Linked DNA regions of Homo sapiens: region 1 is linked to region 2. The links are contacts of gene promoters, found by promoter capture Hi-C in blood cells and fetal thymus (Javierre and others, 2016). All regions are on one chromosome and are shown on one strand. The core of a region is centred on a gene start or on the middle of the fragment in contact, and the rest is flanking DNA. Distances in the headings are between cores, read along the strand shown. Region 1 overlaps SLC13A1 (solute carrier family 13 member 1). Region 2 holds the start of CADPS2 (calcium dependent secretion activator 2).

What was found. Contacts are between HindIII fragments. The CHiCAGO score rates a contact against its expected background, and 5 or more counts as called.
Region 1: a fragment that was not itself captured here is called in contact with the fragment with the promoter of CADPS2 in region 2 in 1 of 17 cell types (endothelial precursors); the score reaches 6.1 in endothelial precursors.

Annotation. Positions count from the first base shown.
Region 1 is chr7:123,159,701-123,162,400 of GRCh38, reverse strand. All of the region lies in intron 6 of SLC13A1 (solute carrier family 13 member 1), which reads left to right. Among named protein-coding and RNA genes, the nearest start is that of SLC13A1, 39 kb to the left of the region's middle. The HindIII fragment of the contact is 6,842 bases long and covers 1-2,700 here.
Region 2 is chr7:122,885,144-122,887,843 of GRCh38, reverse strand. It overlaps CADPS2 (calcium dependent secretion activator 2), which reads left to right and starts at 1,384. Exons shown (of 30, transcript NM_017954.11): 1 at 1,384-1,845. The coding sequence starts at 1,507. RefSeq lists silencers at 977-1,136, 1,147-1,306, 1,377-1,456, 1,467-1,516, 1,557-1,686 and an enhancer at 2,047-2,096. The HindIII fragment of the contact is 15,066 bases long and covers 1-2,700 here.

The DNA of each region.
Region 1 (2,700 bases), core at 191-2,690, 270 kb before region 2:
CTGTGAACGTGACCTCACTCCAGATTTCAACCTTTATTAGAGTCAAAGTGCTATCTCCATTGATGGCCATTCTTAGTTGTGGTCTCACAAAACATTTTTCTATTAAAGAAACTATTGACTTTTGACAATATCATTTCTCCCATATATCTTTATTTTATGAAATACAAAAATCTAGTTCTTCACATTTTATGTTATTGAAATATTATCTAGCAAATAGCATAAGCTCAGCCATATTAGTGATATCTGTACTTTAACTGTACAATAAGCCCCCCACACTACATAGCTTATTTGAATACTATATTTTATTTCTTGAAATACTCAACAGTGTTCTCCTATGCATCTTCTAGTGGTATTTTCTAAAAAAAAAAAAAAAAGAAATATGTTTGTCTCCAAATTGATTTTTCTGTATTTTGATTAAGAAATATTTCATGCATATATGCCTGTATAAAACGTGACTAAATATTTTGAAGAATAACAAAATAAGATAATGTATACCACATCCCAGCTTAATAACTAGAACATAATGATTTCTAAAATCTACACGAGCCTATCTCTTTTCCTTACAGAATCACCCCCAACCCCTTGCCAAGTTAGCTATAGTCCAAATTTTGTGTTAATCATTCTCTTGTTTTCTTTTGTTTTATCACTTGCACTAGTTAAGGTATGGATTGGTCGCCACAGCAAAGACCAAATATAGCAACAATTTCAACAAGATAGAAATAGGCTGGTATAGTGGCTCCTTCATCACCATGCCCCTGACTCTTTCTATCTCTTCTCTGCCATTTCCAGCACTGGAAACTTGCAGTTCAAGATGGCTCCCCATCTCCCTCTGTCCATTCTGTATCGCAGCTAGCTGCTCAAGGAAAGGAGAAAGTGGAAGGCATATGTACTTAGAAATTATTCTATTACTTTCCTGGATTTAAGAGTATTCAGATTTTCTATTTCAACATCAAACAATTGCATTTTTAAAAAGAAATTTATGTGTTCCATGTCAAATTTAGTAGTGTGTGGTTGTTTATAATATTTTCTTATATCTACTTAATTTCTATAGTATTTATAGTTATATGTCTTTATTTCTAACATTTTTCTTGTGCTTTTAAAGATTATTTAAAGATTATTTTTAAATAATCTTTATTTCATTTAAATAAAATATTTTATTTAAGTCTTTTTTAATGTAAATCTTTATTTATCTTATTTTATTTAAATCTGTATTTTAAAGATTATTTTTCAAATAATCTTTCCAAACTATGTCTATTTTATTAGTCTTACAAGTCTTGTCAAAGAACCAACTTCTGACTCCTTTCACCCTCTCTATTTAATGTATATTTCATATTATTTTTAATAGTTTTCTTTATTACTTTGTTCTGTCTACTTTGTTGGTGTATTTATGCTCTTGCTCTTTTACTAATTTTTAAAATCTGACCTTTACCTTATTAGTTTTGAGTTTTTCCTCTCTTCCAAAGTAAGGATTTAAGGATATGAATTTGCTTCTATTACTTTAGCTATTTTCCATATTTTTCAGTTTTGTGTTTTCTGATTTCCATTATACTAGATTTTTTTCACTCAAAAGATGCTTAGAAATGTGTTTTGAAATTTAAAATAAATTAGATTTTTAGCTACTTTTAAATTTTTTCTAACAATTTTTCTGCGGTCAGAAACTGTGGTCTATATAACAGTTCTCTAAAACTTGTTAAAGCAGCTTTTCGGACTAGCACATAGTCAGCTATAATAAATATTTTTCATTGTGCTTAAAACAAATTGTACATTTTTAACTAATTAGGTTCGATGTTTTCCAAAACTCTGTAAGATCAAGTTACTAGTTGTGCTTCTCAAATCTCTGTGCTCTGACCAAGTTTTGTCTCTTTTTATTCAGCAACTGATGAGACTGTTTTGTTAAACTCTCCTTCTATCATGCAGGTATTCTATTTCTTCTGATACTTCTGTCCATTTTGGTTCCTCTGCATTGTTAAATTATGTTATTCTGAACCCATTTAGAATGTTTCTGTGTGTGTGATTGATTAACCTTTTATCATTTTGCTGTGCACCTCTTCATCTATCTTAATTTTTTTGGTCTTTGAGTTTATTTGTCTGCTGATAATACAGGACGACCAGCTTTTTTTTTTTTTTTTTGAGACTGAGTCTCACTCTGCCACCTAGGCTAGAGTGCAGTGACACGATCTCAGCTCACTGCAACCTCCGCCTCCTGGGTTCAAGCGATTCTCCTGCCTCAGCCTCCTGAGTAGCTGGGATTACAGGTGCCCAGCTAATTTTTTGTATTTTTAGTAAAGAAGGGATGTCACTATGTTGGCCAGGCTAGTCTCGAACTCCTGACCTCATAATTCGCCCACCTCGGCCTCCCAAAGTGCTGGGATTACAGGCATGACACTACCAGCTTTTATAAGGCTAGTATTTACCTGGCATTTCCTCTATCCTTTCACTTTCAACACTTTATGACACTACCAGCTTTTATAAAGCTGGTATTTACCTGGCATTTCCTCTATCCTTTCACTTTCAATATTTCTGTGTCCTTATATTTTAGGTGTATCTCTTTTATTATGTTTGAAAAGTTTTACCTCTACCCGACATGTTTTATCCATTTAAATTATTTGTGACATTATATATTTAGAATAATTTCTACTGCCAGCTTTTTATTTTTTCCAAATATTCTTTCCATCTTTTCTTCCTGCGTTCCTATGCAGT
Region 2 (2,700 bases), core at 135-2,634:
TCAGGAGTAAATGCCTCCTTGTCTTTTACCCATCTAGAGAGAATGTCAGTAAGTGCAGAAGTCTCTCTTGTGTACCTAACTATATGAAAGTGGCCTGAAAAAGCTAAAACTGCTGTTTGACCATGGTGGTAGAGGAGCTCAGAGCTGGTAGTTAATTTGCCCTGTGTTATTTCCACTGAACTTCATCACCTCCCTGCCCACCTGGTCGCTGCACACTCCACCTGGTGTTGAATGCATTGTTTTGCCTATTTCCCCCTCTGTCAGGACTTAGGACATAAGATACAGAATTACTATAAGAAACTCCTAGGTGGTTCCAGCACTAGGACTGAGAAATCTGCGCAGATAAGGCAGGCTTCAGCGCAGCTACAAGACGCCGACTTGAGGCCAGAACCACCAGCGACTGAGTGTCATGTGCCTTAGTCACCGCGGGCTCCGCAAAAGGCTAACAGTGCTGGACACCGGGAGGGCGCTCAAATCTTTGTTGAATAAATGTCCACACTACACAACCTGTTTTGAGTCAACTGCATCCCAACCCAGAAAATAATCGAGATATGTTTGAGCTGAATCAGTATCATTTTGCACATATAAAATCTCTCTTGCCTTGAGTCTGCAGGACTAGAACAGTTTAAAAAGTAAGCCTCGTTGGTTTTCTTTTTTTTTTCATTACTCCGACTTTTATAATTTGGGCTTCAGCATGAGTATCAAAACGGCAGCAGAGCAGAGTGAGACTTTTCAAAGTCTTGTCGCAAAGATACTTCGTGGTGAAGGGCTCCAGTCCCGCTTTTCCGCGCTGGGGTTCAATCCTAGGCAGCCGATTCGGGTTGGGGAGATGTCTCGGCCGCTCCCCCTAACCTCTTGCTAGGGAACAGTCCCTCCCCGCTCCCCATTCCACCTCCACCTGCTGGAGAAAAGATCACAGGTGGTAGGGTGAGGGTAGTCGGAGCAGCCCCGGTGGACGCTTACACGGGCCATCGCGCTCGGCCGCTCCCCGCCTTTGCAAACTGTGTGCTAGGGCTCCAGGCGGGCCCGGGCAGCAGCGGCGGCGCGCGCACGCGCACTCCGCGGCCCCGCGCGGCTCTTCAACATTCAATTCCACGTGTTGCTTGTTGTAGGCGCCACAGGTTCCCCACCTGCGTCCGGGCGCTCGGGCGGCTCCGCCTCTGCCGGCGGGCTCTGGGGAACCGCTGGGTCGGCGCGCCCGGGGCTGGCGGAGCAATTCCTGAGGCGCCCAAGCTCACCCCCAACGCTAACTCCGCCTATTCAGTCCCGGCGGCTCCCCCTCTCCCCCCTCCCAATCCTCCTCCCGGCTCCTGCCCGCCCCTTTCGCCCTGGTGGTAGGAAACACTCCTGAATCTAACTCGACGTGTCCGGAAAGCCCTGGCCAGTTTTCCTTTCGTTCTGCGGCCGCTGCAGCCAGCCCCGCGGCTCCCTCAGACCCGCGGGCGCAGCCGCCGGGGGTGAGGCGCTTGGGGACCGCGGGCCGAGCGGCGGGGATCCCCGAGCACCATGCTGGACCCGTCTTCCAGCGAAGAGGAGTCGGACGAGGGGCTGGAAGAGGAAAGCCGCGATGTGCTGGTGGCAGCCGGCAGCTCGCAGCGAGCTCCTCCAGCCCCGACTCGGGAAGGGCGGCGGGACGCGCCGGGGCGCGCGGGCGGCGGCGGCGCGGCCAGATCTGTGAGCCCGAGCCCCTCTGTGCTCAGCGAGGGGCGAGACGAGCCCCAGCGGCAGCTGGACGATGAGCAGGAGCGGAGGATCCGCCTGCAGCTCTACGTCTTCGTCGTGAGGTGCATCGCGTACCCCTTCAACGCCAAGCAGCCCACCGACATGGCCCGGAGGCAGCAGAAGGTGAGTTGCGGGACCGGGCGCCTCCTACCACCACTTCTCCCTGGGTTTTTCTCCCGGGAGAGCTCTGGGACGCCTCCCGTCCTTCTGCGAAACGCAGGACACCGTATTTTTGTTAGTCTCTGAGGGCAGAGGAATCTTTGGGGACAAGACGGTGCTTTCACCCGCCGGGTATGCGGCTGCAGCGGACACCTCTTCTCCTCCTCCCCGCCTGGGCTGGCAGGAGCTGTCAGCTCACCATCCGTGAGACAGAGACCGACAGCGCCGGCCGCGCCGCGGTTGCACCCGGCAGGCGCAGCTCTGGCCGGATTAGAATGCAACTCCCATCAACTTTAATTTCCAACAGCACTGGTGCATTCCTGTCCACCTAGCCTGGCGTGATATTGCTAGAGCTGGGTTTGCCGAGGGTCTGAATGAGTGTTGTAGCTAGGCGAAACAGGTGGAGCCCGAGTACTTCTCTTAGCTAGAGTGAAGTCTTCACTTAAGAGGGGTAGAAATTTTCCTCAGTGAATAAAAAAGTTAAATTAATACGTTTCCTATATTGTCATACAACCAGGACATCAAATCCAAACACCGAGAAGGCATGCAGCTTTGTAAAGTGTTTGTGGGTAAGTAATTTCTGGTCTGGGCAGGCCTGATTAATGAAATATACTATTACTGATGAAAGATAAAGGATTGGTGCATGATCACTTCATAACAAATGCTTTCCAAATGCTTTTTTGGGGAACAAAATGCTTATTCTCCCCCAAAAGGTAAGAAGTTTGTTTCAGGTGAAAGGCTGGCCAACTTGAGTTTCAAAACAAGACCCCAGGGGCCTGATGTTCTGTACCAGACACGAGTAATGACTCAAATTGTCCT